Regions from separate parts of the Homo sapiens genome. Here region 2 is linked to region 1. The links are contacts of gene promoters, found by promoter capture Hi-C in human tissues and cell types (Jung and others, 2019). All regions are on one chromosome and are shown on one strand. Each heading gives the region's core, a stretch centred on a gene start or on the middle of the fragment in contact. The rest is flanking DNA. Distances are from core to core; before and after follow the strand shown. Region 1 holds the start of ROBO1 (roundabout guidance receptor 1). Region 2 has its middle 37 kb from the start of ROBO1.

Region 1 (7,644 bases), core at 2,853-5,352:
CTCCTTGTTTAAATATGGGGGAAAATAGGTAGGTCCAGTTAACTGAAGAGAATGGCTCCCTTAAAAGCAGCAGTATGACATACTAGAAAAGCATGTACTCTGTCATGAGAAAGAACTTGTTTTTAATCCTGGCTCTGCCCCTTTTTGGCTGAATAGTCATGTCTATTTTCCTTAAACTCTCTGAGCTTCATTCTCTTCATGTGTTGTAGACATCTAATAAAGCCTACTTTGAAAGGGTTATGTGGGGATTAAGTGAAATATCTATTGCAGGTACGGTGACTAACACTGTTTCTACAGTTTTATCCTATGTAGTTTTGAATTAGTCAGTTAGCCTTCTAGGACCTCAATTTCCTATAGAATTAGGAGAATTGGCACTAATATATTTTAGGTACAAATATGAATACATTAACAGTAACATTGCTCACTTCAACAGCAAGTTTAGAGAGATAAATGATTATGTGACCAGGTCATAATCTAGCCTATTGTATGCTATCATGTTTTTGTCTGTGGTCTCAGAAAGAGGAAAATCAGTTGAGTTTAGGTGGCAAGAAGGAGCTCATTCTCCAGCAGATTGGTGGAAGCTCACCTCAAGATACATTTCAAATGGTGCATTGCACCTGCTCATTCATCAAGCTGCCAGGGGCTTACTTTACTGCCTTGCTTTTTTTCATTTAAAATTCACATCTTTGTGGTGTCTAGAGTTTCTCAGCTTTGTAATGAAAGTAATACATTAAATCTTGCTTAAATAAAAGTAGTTCCTAATGTATTAAGTATAGATGAAGGCCAAAAAGTGAGATTTTATAGCTAAGCACAACACTACTTTCCAAATAGTGCACACAAGTGTATAGCTTCCTTTTCATCTCTGGTCAATGTTATTTTGTATTTGAATTGATTCTACTATGTTATAAGATAAAAGAAAATTATACAGAACAATGCAGTTCTCTTTGGGGAGATATTAGGGTATTTGTTCTTTATTTTGTGCAGTATAGGGTAAGAGAAAGTTGGCATTAAACCTTTGGGACTCCCTAGGCAGCTGTTGAGTCTCTCCCCTCCTCCCATGCTCAGCTCAGTGCTATATCACTGGAAATCACTAACCTTCATAGAGTAGAGCCCAGAAGATGGTAACACTGGTTCAAGGACAGGCTAAGGGAAGCGAAGGGAAGTAAAAGGAAGTAAATAGGAAAATACAACAAACATGTGATTAACAGCTGTTTTCTGAAGCAAGGCTCCACCAGGGATCTGCAGCTGTGTCATTGTGCTTCAATTCTGCAGCTCCTACAGGGCTAAATTGGAAGAGGCATGGAGCAGGAAGATATGTGCGAAAAGGCTAAAGGAAGTCCAAAAACCGTGGCAACAATATAAGGTGAATGCCCCCACTCCTTAGATATCCTAATTTTTATCCCTCATGGGAGAGGTATAGGTCCATAAGAAACAAAGTCATCTTACCAACTGGATATCTGCTCCGAGCTGCTGCTGCTTCCTCTTCCTTTTTTTGGGGGGTGGGGGCCGATTTTGGAAGGGCAAATATTGATGGAACATCTACCAACACTGCCTCTTCCCTTTAACAAAATCAACATGATGCATGCTTACAGATTGCCTTTGAAAGTTACCAGTGCCTCCTCAAGATATAGTAGAGAAGCAGGTTTTAAGGTGTCAGACTGAGGCTTTCAAAATAATAGCTGCTAGGAGAATACAAGTTTGGGCCTGAAAACCCAGTTATGAGGCTTCCAAATAAATCAGTGGATTTTCAACTTTTTTTTGTAATTATTATATCCTAGTTCCCAAACAACCACAGTAAAGGAGGCACATGGAAAGCGAGGAAAAAATGAAATGGCATTGTCTTCCCCCAGGTGCTCAATCAGTATATTTCCTTTGATGTGTAGCCTTCAAGTAACTGACAACCCCAAGTGGCCCATTCTATAGGGTCCTGCATCTACGCTCCTTCCTCTGTGCGCTCAGCCCGGGTTGACAAGCAACCTCCAAATTAAACAACCTCCCACCACTACTTGGAAACAGACAACCATCTCTTAACAGGCCTCTGTAACACACAGCTTGATGAAAATCACTTACACAGGGCAGATGACACAGAGGAGTTTACAAGGTCGGGGCACTCCTTGGCGGGGCGTGAAAGGGTGGGAGGTGCTGAGGTCAGGGTTAAACTACCCTGTGAAATGAGCCTCCTGCCCTGCCCTTTCCTCCCTTCATCTATAGAAGGAGCCTCCAGTGAGTTCCTGCGTCTGGAAATCTGCCCCCTTTAGTGCCGCAGACAGGCCAGGGACAGCATTTCAAAGCTCCTCTAAATCAATCCACTTAAAAGAGCCCAGAAAAGCCTGACCATTGACCATAATTGCCCTAAATTGCTTGTTTTCCTTCCCCTCTTGCAGCCTCATCAACATTTCCCTTCTTTCCCCCTTCGTGTCCTTTTTTCTTGGGGGCGCAGGTCCTCTAGATGCTTGGGGTGCACACTAAGGATATTTGAGTAGTGGGAGCTCCGACTCGAGGCAGGAGTGGGATGTCTTAGCATTCCGTCTCCCCCACCCCACCCATCTGCGTGGGACACAGTGACTCCTAGAAGGGTATCCCAGGATTTTAGCGGCCAGGTGTGAGCGCCCTCCACGCGGTCCTCCGAGACCTCAGGGCGCGTGGCAACTGGGCAGAAGCCGTCTCTGCAGCGCCGCTGCCCCGGGTGGAGCGGCAGCCCAGGCTGCAGCAGTGGGGTTGCCACGCCGAGTTTTCCGCATCGGCCGCCCGCAGGGCTCGCCTGCTTCTCCCCATTGTGTTCTCAGAGCTGTGGGACCCAGCCGCGCGCGCAGCCGCACCCGCGCCAACGCTGGAACCGAAGGCTCATGGAAGCGGGGCTGGCAAGATGGGGCAGGGAGAAGGAGCAAGAAGGGGCCCCAGAAGGGCACGGCGTTTCATCAATAATGCAGAGGCTCCTGGACCTCCCTGCAATACGTTTTCCAGCTAAACGCCACCAACTGGAGCGCTTCCTGGTTCGTCCCACTCGTGTGGTTTTTGTGTGTGAAAGATGGGACGCACCTTTTTCATTCATCTGTCTTCTCTCATTCTTCCTCCTTCCCTCCCTCATTTCCTCCCTCAAAGTCCCCGCTGGCTTAGCTTTAAGCTCTCGTCTTCACATCAGCACCATGTTTTCAAGCAAAATCCTGCAGGTTGGAAATGCAAGTGTCAAAAGTCCCCACTGCCTACATACCGCCAAGAGTTTACCAAAATCCACCTAGTAACGCTTATTTTCAAAGCCCCCACGCGCATCCATTCCTGGAGAATGCTTTCAAAGTTTGGAAGCTCCCTGCAGCCTGCCCGTGTCTATGCCTCAGTCAGCTCACATCACGAACAACGGTGCGGTCAGCGGCACTGAGATTAGGCTGCAAAGTTGCCCGGCCCCAGCCCACTACACCGCTGATGCTCGCCGCATCCCTAGAGCAAATTCCGCTGTGTGCCCCCAAGAAGCCAAAAGCGGCACGAAACCTACTCCAACAAGGGTTAGCCCAGCCACACACACAACAAACAAATTCCAAAACTTCTTTGTTAAGCAGCCGCAGCCTACCTGGAACGGACACTCTGCACAACTGGCAAGGAAGAAACAAACATCGCATCCCTGCAGGAAAACTTGTTGAATCCCTCCCGATCGCAAGGCTGCAATTTCCGATTTAGCCTGAAGGTTTTTGATTCTACCCCAAAACACCCTGGCGCATCAGCCACAATTTCTGGATAAACTGCAGAGTCCTCTCGGCAACCATTCTGCACTCCAACAACCACTAGTGTAAAACCCAGCGTGTCCCCTTTTACAAATCAAAAGCCAGCTGTCACTTCCCTTGCAACCATTTCCGAGACTTACCCTTCCATAAGACTGTTTTCAGCAATCTAGAGGCTCCGTAGTGCAGACGCAGCCCTGCAACTTTGCTGTGCACTGAGACCTTTCCGAGTTTAAACCAAGCGAAAGGTGACAGACTTTTAAACCTAAGAGTGGGGAAATAGGGAGAGAGTGAAGTCGGGTTTCTTCTCTGTATCAGCACCCTGGAAAAATTCAATCCTTCTTCAGTAGAGAATTCTTTCAAACCCGTTATCTGTATTACTATTAATGCGCAGAGCAGAAGGCATTGCATACAAATAGGTCCAAGTGTGCGCTTCTATTGGTGGCTGCGGAGGCCCCTGGGTCCTACTGCTCCGGTCTAAACTACACAGCAACACTAGGCACGCAGCTTTGGAGACGCCGAGGGGAAAATGGATTTAATTGATTCGTTACCTCTGGTATTGTAATGCCTGCTGCGATGTTTAACCGAGGGGGGAGGAAAAAAAAAAAAAAAAACCCTTACATTTAACTCCTGTCATGTGATCTATCATTCCATAGCTGCTTTTAATTGTCTGTGTGGAGTGGCTTTGATCATACAAAGGATTTTAAAAGAACATTTTCGAAGGAAAATTCACACAGACACTTTTGGCAGGAAAACCCTCTTTTGCTCTCTATTATGCATTATTCTCATATAAATCCAGGAAATTTTATATAATCAAATACTTCTGCACTTCACGTAGGTACACACAACACCCAATTGTATTTACAATTCATAGCTACTACAAATAAAATACCTTACATGGGTAGTAGATAGTAGAAGCTAAAATATGAGTCTACCAATTATAAAACACGGGTTATATTAGTCAAATGCTACAGAAAAAATTCCATCAATGACAATGGCGTCAGCATCATTTTTACTTCGCAAAATTAGAAATTCAAAAATATTTTCCTTGTAAATATTGACATAAAGATATAAATCAACATAAAGGTATTATAATGTCACAGTATGTCAAGCATTTACTATTAATTGCTACATTATCTTTTTACAGTTTCTCTCTTAGCAAGTTCATTAGTAATGCAAATTGGCATAACAAGGAGATTTAAAGTGAGGCCGACCTGTGGTGACTAGCAATTTGAAATATTGTAATAGTGTGCAAAATCACTTTAGTTCATCATCGGTAAAGCCAGTTATTTTAAGAATTAGAATATTAAATGCTGAATCTTAATATATATTAATTTGAAGTCTTAAACATGCTGTTTTCTTTGACCTTTAATTTTGTGGAGGAAAAGAGAAATCCTTATTTAAACTAAAATGACATAGACTTTCCACAAAATCCTAGATACGATATTTACTGATATTATAATTTAGGAAGTAACATAATTTTATTGTCTTTGATGTAAATAATTGTGATAAATTCCAATTTAATTACAAAATTATTACATATATGTAATGTACAACTGAATGAACATTGTTGGAAAGGGCCACTCTGGATAAGGTTAACATCAACCAACCTATAAATTCACTACCTATGTGTAAACTAAATAAATGAAAACACAATGCAAAAATACAACAGACTCGAGATCTTATTCCAAATACATGTAAAGCATTTGAATTTATGTAGTGTGTGCTACAATCCCTCTTCATTTCCGTAACTCTTTCCCTTTACAGCCCCTTCCCTTCCCCCAATCAGTAACCCTTGACAACAGAAGTGTTAACTTCAAGTCCAGGTTGCCTTTGCTGCCTTCCAGACCTAACTTACAGATTGCATCCTTGTAGGAAACAGAGTTAACTCTTACACGACTGAGAGGTGAAAGAAGAGAGTTTCTTTCAGGGATTAGAAAATCCAGTATTTTTATGTGTATTTGCAAAGTTTGCACCAAACACATATTTTTAAAAATATCCATGATCACTAATTCAGAGTGAAAAGATGTGATCATTGGCATTGTATCAGAGTCAATTTGCTGTATATATCCATTGCTATTGTGTCACTGAAATAGCTTTTGAATAACTTTTATTCAGGGTTACTTCAATCACTTTACTTCAGGTTAATAATTTCTCCATTTACAATAGAGTTAAAATGAAAATACCAAAGTGTTGCAATATTCAGTATAAGGGTATAAAGGACTTTTTTTTAATCTGTAAAAGAAAAGAAAAGCTATTATTTCATATAGTAAGAAAAGCATAATGACCATGCAAAGTTGAATAAAGATGACTGACATTCATCTTATTTCTAAAACAAGTAAATTATTGGTGTTTCAACTTCTTTCTACAAGGGGATCTGAAAAAAATCATTTGCAACCCAACTACAAGTTGAAAGTTCTGCATTTAATGTGTATCATTTTAGAACTGAGAAAAGATGTGTTTTACACAAGCTGACAGATTTTATACAAAATCAATGCAGCTTATCTATGACCATAATTAAATGGGGAAGTTTGATAGTGGACACATATAATAGTGAACAGAAGAAAATAAATAAACCAAAACTGACCTAATAACAAATTTATTATATAATCTCTTGATAAGTTTTTACTTTCTATATAAAAGACTGATGTAAAAATATAGCAAGCTAAACAGAAACTTAAGTTTAACTTACTATTTTTTTAAAAAAGTTTTCTACATCTCTTCAATAAATTACTTGTTTATCCAAATTATTACCATATGAGATGTATATATATATATATATATATATATATATATATATATATATAAAATAAATATATAGTTGTAAATGTTGCAAATATATTTTCCTTACTTCTTGGATACTAAGGCAAAACATATTTTAAAGAAGGATATTAGAACCACAATAGTTTTCATATATCCTAGATCTGTAGGAATATCCTTGATCTATTCTTTATTATTTGAAGTATTGTTGGACCCCTCATTTTGTCAGTGCAATTTTCAAGGACAATATATGCTATGTCAGAAACTGATATCCATTATGTCCTTGGATCATGATGACAATGCCTTATTGTGGTTACTGTGAACATCTATAAAAGTTGGAAAGCAAAACATACATGGCATATCCCTGTCTGTCATTACTACAATCAGCTTCCTTTCTAAATTTAGGTGGGTAAACACGCAATAGCATGCCACTTGATAAAACTTAATGAAATATAATGACATTCAGCTACTATCCAAGCTATTTAAAAAATTCTGCCTTGAGTAATTTTGAAATATGTATAGTTTAAAAAATTTCAAAGCCACAGGCATTGATCTATGTGTCTCTTTAAATAGAATATTTATCCATGCTTGATTTTGACAGATGAAAAGGAAAACTACCAGACATATAAATTATATTCTGAAAGCAGAAATATAAAGAATGTTAACAGCTAAACAGGCATCTTTAAAAGTGTAAATCAGTACTAAACAGCAATATATATATACACACATATATATGTATATATACACATATATACACACATATATGTATATATACACACATATATACACATATATGTACACACACATATACACATATATGTACACACACATATACACATATATGTACATACACACATATACACATATATGTACATACACATATATACACATATGTGTACATACACACATATACACATATGTACATACACACATATACACACATATGTACATACACACATATATACGCATATATGTACATACACACATATATACGCATATATGTATATACACACATATACGCATATATGTATATACACACTTATATACACACATATACACATATATACACATATACACATATATACACACATATACACATGTATACACATATACGCATATATACACACGCATACACATATACTCATATATACACATGCATACACATATACGC
Region 2 (7,644 bases), core at 2,422-4,921, 37 kb after region 1:
AAAATTCTTATGAATACAATTCTTTATTGTTTCTTTAAAACTACAGAGTCCTCTTCATTTCTCTCATTAAATGGATTCATACAGGCTATGAGGATTTTTATAGCCAAAATGTCAGGAAGGAAAATGAAAGCATATGAAGTGCATCTTCATCATTAAGGTATTTAATGTTTAAATGTAATTTTAAAAACTTACTCAAAGGATGAAAAAGAAAAGTGAAGCATCTTTGAAGTGGAAGTAAGGAAATTATTTTTCTTCATGTTCTAGGCTCCAGTAATTTCTTAGAACTTTGAGAAGTCAATGTGTTTTTTTTTTAAATAAAATTAGATTTTATTTTTTCAAAATATTGAGTTCATCATAAGAGTTAGCAACCCACGTACAATGCGGTTGTGAGAGAGGAGAGTAAAAATCATTATTAAAGCTGTAAATTAAGACAGGCTATTCACTGAAAGGCTGTGTGCGAGATCAGTCTGTGAAAATCCGACATCTCTTTAAGAGACATGACCGAGGTCATATTTTACCTTGGCATTTCCAAGATCTAGTTTGACTGAAGCATAATTGTCATTTGGCTGATGTGTGTTAAACAAATTACCATAATAGGATATTATCACCAATGGGGATCTCTTTTACATTGCGGGATGAGGCAGATTCATCAATGCATGTACCATAGTGAATATGGGAATGAGGTGTCTCAGTCATGGAACTCAGTGATGGTCCACAATGACTGTGGACCTTGCTTTAGCAGCACTAGATAATGTTAACTAAGGTCTCTACAATGTGATGGGTGTCTAAACTCTAGAAGTAGTTCAACTTATGAACTACTTAGCACATATACTCCTACAGTCATGGCCATTAATGGTACGGGATATTGCAATGGACATATATTGCATGAACCACAGCAGTTGAAGAGAAGTAGGTCACAGCATTATTTGAGAAAAAGGTTGAACTTGTACTATTAGCAACAGCATATATCCCTTAGATAAGTGCTATTCTTCTAGAGCTAAGGTATATTATTAAACTATTCATTTTAGTATAGAATACTGATAGGAAAATTGCCATATTTCAAGCTGTATGAAGTTAAAAATAAAATCACCCTTAACTTACCATTTCTCTCTTGCTTATGCCCTAATTTCTGTATTCTCTAGTCTCAGTATCCGGAGGTACCAGGTGTGTTTCAACTTGCTTCTATATGGTAGAATAGGATTTCTAATGATGAGGCTCTATGTTCATGTCCTATTTTCAAGTGGCTTTGGGTTTCTATATAATACTGGCTATCAGAAGGTGCTGCATAAAAATGAAATGTGTCAAGACTCAATTCCACTATGTCCTAAAAGTCTTATTTTAGATAATTCCATTCTGATATGGCACAGTATATTTTCTCAACATTTATGATCAAATAAGGGAGTTTGAGAGCTTCAGACTGATGAAATCTTGCTTTGGTAGAAGATAAATATGTTTTCTTCTTTAGTTGATCAGTAGGCAAATATAAAGGGAATATCATTATACTAATGTTTGATTTTTTCTACTGAGCTTCCTTCTAAGGAAGTTTGTAGGATATTTAAGCTATGCATTATTTTTCAACCAAATTCAGCTTGAATAATGTCATTAAGTGATCATCTTTAGGTAAGCTTTTCATTCATTCATTTATTCAACAATTATTTATTAAAGCACTCTGAATTTTTCCTACTTAGTTTCCTTTCAACCTCTAGACAGTTTAGAAGTATTGGAAAATGTTAGGAAGTTTTATGCTTTAGAGATCATGAGTTTTAGCGCAAACATTTTCTTATTTAAGAATGAATAGTTCTGAAAAAGAAATAGTAGCTTTATTGCAATCTATCTCCTGAGCTGTCTTTGAGTCTGAGCCCATTGCTCTCATGGGAGAGAATTTTGGCCTGTGGCTCTGCTGAGTTACCAGAAACTTTGATTATGGATCTGAGGCTGTCATTCTGTCCTAGAAGCTGAGTTTAAAGCCAAGAAGATTAAATTGTACCAGAATGAGGAATATAATTCAAGAATCTTAAAGGGACTTTGTAGAGTTACCTGGGATTTAAAAAGTAATATTACTAAGCTGCTTTTTTTGGGTTCAAGAGACTTCAAATCTGCCATCTCATGCCAGTGTTTCCTGTCTCTTATTTATATAAAATTATTTTTTAAATAAATAACAAAACGACAGAAAGAAAAACAAAAAAGATGAATGGCAAAATTAACATTCCATGAAAAATTACAAATGCAAAGAAAACTCTCTCCAAAGAGTCCAGTTAAACTTTTCACTTAAATTATGTTATCTTAAAGTGACTAGCAAAAGCTCTCTGCCTGTGAATTAAGAAGCCTGGGATTATTTTTCTGGGAGAACGCAAAAGATAGGATGAAATTACTATATCCCTTTTTGAATTCTGAGATTTCTAAGCCACAGGCATGAATTTTTAGCCTGCCACTAATTACTTCTGTATGCTCATACTGTGTTTCATCAACGTGGGTGATAAAAGTTATGCTACAGTTTATTCTGCAGATCACTTTAGGATCTACTGTCAAGTCAAACAAAATGGAATTAATTATGAAAGACTTCCAAAGAACAGGTTCAGGCAAATGGGACGCTGTTTTAGCTCTTGAAAGATCACATTTGTTTGGGGGATTTCAGAAAATTAATCTGTTCTAGAAATCAATGTGTGCAGCATTGTTCAGATGAGAAAAATAAATGGTGTTATAAGGAAGCTTTATTTTAGTTGTAAGTTCCTCTTGCCTCAGTCTTCTGATTTTTATTTCTGCACTACTAATGAAAATTTTCTGTTTACATTGGACTGTTATTTTCATATGACTTGAAGGTTCTTACTAATTTTCCACTTTGAACTTTGTCCTCACTTTCAATTTTCTAATTATCTCTGGTTATTTTGTTTGAATTCCTAATACCCTTTTATTTATTTCCTCTTTAATGCTCAGGTTCTTTTCATCCTGATTCAGAGGTCTGTTTTTATAATCCACAGATCATCGTAATAGGATTAATGTCCATAAAGAAGATGGACATATTTATTTTAAAGATTAATAATGAACGTGTAATAACCAAGTCTATACCACTGACACTAAAGAATGATGATCAGGCTGCTCATAATTAAGAGGATTATCATTTTCATACTATTTATGAATCATATAAACTATTACCAAAATGAATATTCATAATCCTTATAGTTATGGATAAAATTAAGAAAGCAAGCTATAAGGAAAAATAATAGCTCAGAACAATCCAGTAAGTTTTCCAGGGAATTTCAAAATGGATGTTAAGGACAATAACATTAAATGTTGACCCTTTTTCATAAAATAGACTTACATATATCAAAATTCCCAAATAATAATTCATTTTTAGATGGTACATAGCCTGTTTTAAGACAGACTTACTCCTACAACTAATAAAAATTTTATTATTACATTTATGCTAGCCGTTACATAATTTAGTGCTGATAATGTATTAATGATAGGGTTATGTAAACGAGACTATAATATTCTATAATTCTAAAACTATTTTCATTACCTCTACAGAAACAGAGGTATTTTCCAGGAAATCTAAAGGACACACTCTTTTTCTGGATTCCTTCCAAAGCAGTACATTAAATGACCTTGATTGTGCTTAGAATTTCAATTTGAAAACTAAGTTTGTATGTGAATTCTGGTTACAGGTTTTCACAGAATTTCTATTGAGGCAAAATGTGTACTAATACAAAATAAATACTGGAAAAATAAGACTCTAAAATGACATATTTGAAGATAAGTGAAAATATATTAAAATAAAAAATTATTTTTCATAGTATATAAAAGAGGGATATTATTAAGTTCATATTACATGTTTATTTATATAATTAAGATTCCTTCTAACTGTAACATTCAATAAATAATCCCCTTTCATAATTACAAAAACATGTAAAGATGTATTGAAATGATCTTTTTGTTTCTTCCTAGTGCTACTGATTCTGTTTTGATATGAAAAATTATCTCAGCTGATAATGAAAGAAGAATTTATTAGTAAAATTCTTATTATTTCAATTTTCTTACTTTGTACATATTACTAAAATATTACCTCTAATAAAGCACTTACCTTTCTTACATGAACCTCTTGCAGTTTTCCAGCAAACACCATATGGAAATTAAATTAAACAATATTTGATGTAACCTCTCCATTATTATTGCTGAAAAAGCCAAGAGAAATGAACAGACTTCAACTATATTAGAATACTTATGCTTTTAAAATTGATGAATGCAATTAGAAGAGAATATACATCCATGGGAAGAAAGTGACCTAGCCTTACAAATGGTGCCACAAACTGTTTTAGAAAAATACCCAAATCAACGGTTTTGTAGATTTGAAGCCAAATCTTGAGCTCTTGGTAAATATATGGGTGAAATAATAAAGTAATGGCTTTGATAATGACTTTCATAATATTAAAAGGACTAAGCAGTTACTTTATAAAACATTTTAACTTGTTGGCCCACAGTAAAAAGGATTGAGTAGAATGAACCTCTTTTCATTTTTTGAGGTATACAAAGGAAGTGTAAGCTCTTCTTGAAATGCTCACAGTCTTATTAGAAAAAAATGCGTTGTATTAGACTGAGAAAGCACTTTTTATTATATATTAAATTTATGCATTTAGTGTGATGACAATAGTTAAATTTTACTGGATGCTTTATCTTATTTAAGCATCATGCTATGATTTAGGCATCTTCTCATTCCTGATAACATCTATGGTAACTGCATCAATAACATATTAGTTAGCTTGCTCTAATCATAGAGGTTTTTACTCAGGTACAGTGACTACAGCCGCCAAGCTTGGATGCACTGTGCTACATGCTTAAAAGTTTAGAGACGAGACATTAGTGCATGGTAGAAAGGTCAGGAAATGCTTCACACAGTATGTGGCAATTGATTTATTTCTCAAAAAAGTGTTTGGTGTTGGAAAGTATTTACAGGTCTGGAAATCATGTGACAAAGACCAGATTGTCAGAGGGTGTGACAAAATTGGGGATAGAGATGAGTCTAGATTGAATAAAATAAATTGGGTCAGAATTTTATTGATTTGCAAGGCAGTAACAAATTATAGATTTTACGCTTTAGAAGGTGGGAAGATATTGACTCTTTGGGAGATTTATATTAATTATCTATAAACATTTCTTGCACAAACCCTGCAGTCAATGTTAAAGAGTAGTCTAGAATCAATTATTGCAATACAACCTTTAAGTTACAATAATGTAATATAAATGTGCATACCTAAACCAGAAGCAGCACAGCGAGGCCTGCAGATAAAGTGATATATGAGTTTTGTCTTGAAGGATGGAACTAGTGTTTTGGAAAGATTCATCTAACAGTAATGTGCAGAATGAATGAAACAGAAGAAAGACATAATATTGGGTAGAAAAGATAAGAGACACTATCATAAAAGGGATAACGTGTGGTAGAGGCATGATCAGTTGCCAATTTATTTTAAGCATGATAGATTACTGATCAGACACAGAATTTGCCCCAAAGAACTATGGTTTTAGATTAACATTATACATACGTAAGCTTACTCTTGGATAGTTAATTTAGTTTTGCTAACCATGAGGCTAATAAGACCAGGGTTATGGGGTTACTCACTGTTTCATGACATTGGAGTAAAGGCTAGTCAGAAATCTTATAAACCTTTCGCAAAATGACAAATACAGATAACGTAAATATCTCTGTGAATTTCACACCTATGATAATCAACATTGAAGTAAAATCCTCAAAAATATGTATTCAACTAAAAGTAGGCCAAGAGTATCATCACGGATTATAACGAACATAAATAATGGCGTAAAGAATCTACCAAGTACTTTGTCAGAATAAAATATCATGCGAGCTTTCTAGGTAGTGGTAAATATTGGTCTATATTTACAAACGGTTTTATTTGTCCATATAGTATGGCACCCATTATCATCCATGTAAACTAGAATACTCCACTGCTTCTGCCTAATAATGGCAATGATAACAATAAAACCAATAATAAAATAAATACTTATGCCTCAAATAATTTTAGAATTAGGGTAGAAACAAATAGCTACGATTTATTTAGCACATAACATAGTGGCATGATATAGTTTAATTTTCACATACTACAAACTAAAAATTTTTATAATTCTATATTATAGGTGAGTCAATTGAGACTCCTACAGCTAATATGTTTCTGAGCTAGGACTCAAAAGTGGGTAAGATTACAAAGCCCTGTGAAGTAGCTAGTATTTGTATTTCCTCCTTTATAAGTATTAGTTATGAATCACGCAGACATTTTATTTTTAATGCTTTCCTGATCTAGCTGCCTAAAATAAGAGTTTTAATAATTGCAAAATGTAGAAATGTAGGTAGTGAAAACATAAAAAGATCTGTGTACGTAATTAAATCTCAAGCCACACTAGTTCCCATGGTTCCTTTGTGTTACCCCTGAAATTTACATTTTAAATTATAAACCTAAATGCCTAAAGTAAACAGAAGACTATCTATCCTCAAATCCAATCCAATGAAGGACCTAAGATGCATCTCAAGATCCCATCTAATGGACTTCTCTATCACAGACTCTCAGCCTCCCTTTTCTTTTCTCCAGACTTTAATACTGGGTCCAGCTTTTGAGATCTCAGCGGGGAAAAAGGGAGGAGTGAGACTCCATGCATCAACATTTTGTCCTAGATTTTCACTGTGCTCTCATCAAAAGTGGCTTCAATCATTCTCCCAACTGCACTGACCCTCTCTGTCTGTATGCTCTTAAAGAATCATGCCAAGGAAGGCAGAGTCCTGGGAAAAGATGGTATTTTTCTTTTGCGTAAGCTGTTTGGACTCCAAGCTCCAATTAATGTTTAAAAACTCTAGAATTTTAAGAAAGTAAAGCTAATTTTAAGTAATTTGAAGAAAGTGATGTCCAAAGAATTTTAAAAATCTGGAATGTCCTGTTGGAATTTCTCTTCCCTTAGCCTCTTGTTATTTCCAGAGTTCGTTTCCCTTCTGAAAATTTTATCAATGATTTCAAATATTTACTATTCATTCATTTAAACAAGTGGTAAGCTTCTAATATATGTTAGGTCCAGTATTAGGCATAAGGAATGGAAAAAAAAAGTAAAATAGTGGAATTCACTTCCGCAGGAATCCAGGGGATATTTGCTGTCTTTGTGATGTAGCACCTGATAGTCTAGTAAACGAGTGGAGAAAGTCAGATGAAATTACATGACATGTTTTCATCAACATTTTTCCCCCACATAACATAGTTTCTGATGATGGGCAAGACAATAAGAAACATTGTATTGCAGTGATGGTGATGGAGGACTGGTGGTCAAAATCTCCATTATCACCATAAAATAAAATTTTTCTGTATCTTCAGTAGCAGTTTTTAGAGGTCTTGATTTTCCCTATGACATATCTAAACGTAAATAATAATACATCAAGGAAGTCCCTAAGTCAATAGTACTCTGTTGAAAGGAGCCCTTTGATTTAGTTTTCCAGACAGAGCTTTCAGAGATCATAATCATCCTGAATATTCCAGCAATGCTCAGAAAATAAAACTAATTTTAACTTTGCTCTAAAGATATTGCTTTAAATGGGCTTTTGACTGGCTGCCGAAAACTGTTTATTGATTCAATTTTCTGACTAACTGATAACAA

The links. The method cuts DNA at HindIII sites, captures the fragments that hold promoters and counts their contacts. A contact is called where the count stands out against the background at its distance.
Region 2: a contact is called between a fragment that was not itself captured here and the fragment with the promoter of ROBO1 in region 1, in 3 of the 25 tissues and cell types used here (H1 embryonic stem cells, liver and pancreas).

Annotation. Positions count from the first base shown.
Region 1 is chr3:79,763,896-79,771,539 of GRCh38, forward strand. ROBO1 (roundabout guidance receptor 1) reads right to left here and starts at 4,103. Exons shown (of 31, transcript NM_002941.4): 1 at 3,857-4,103. The HindIII fragment of the contact is 15,501 bases long and covers 1-7,644 here.
Region 2 is chr3:79,801,196-79,808,839 of GRCh38, forward strand. No RefSeq gene overlaps it. Among named protein-coding and RNA genes, the nearest start is that of ROBO1, 37 kb to the left of the region's middle. The HindIII fragment of the contact is 3,008 bases long and covers 2,168-5,175 here.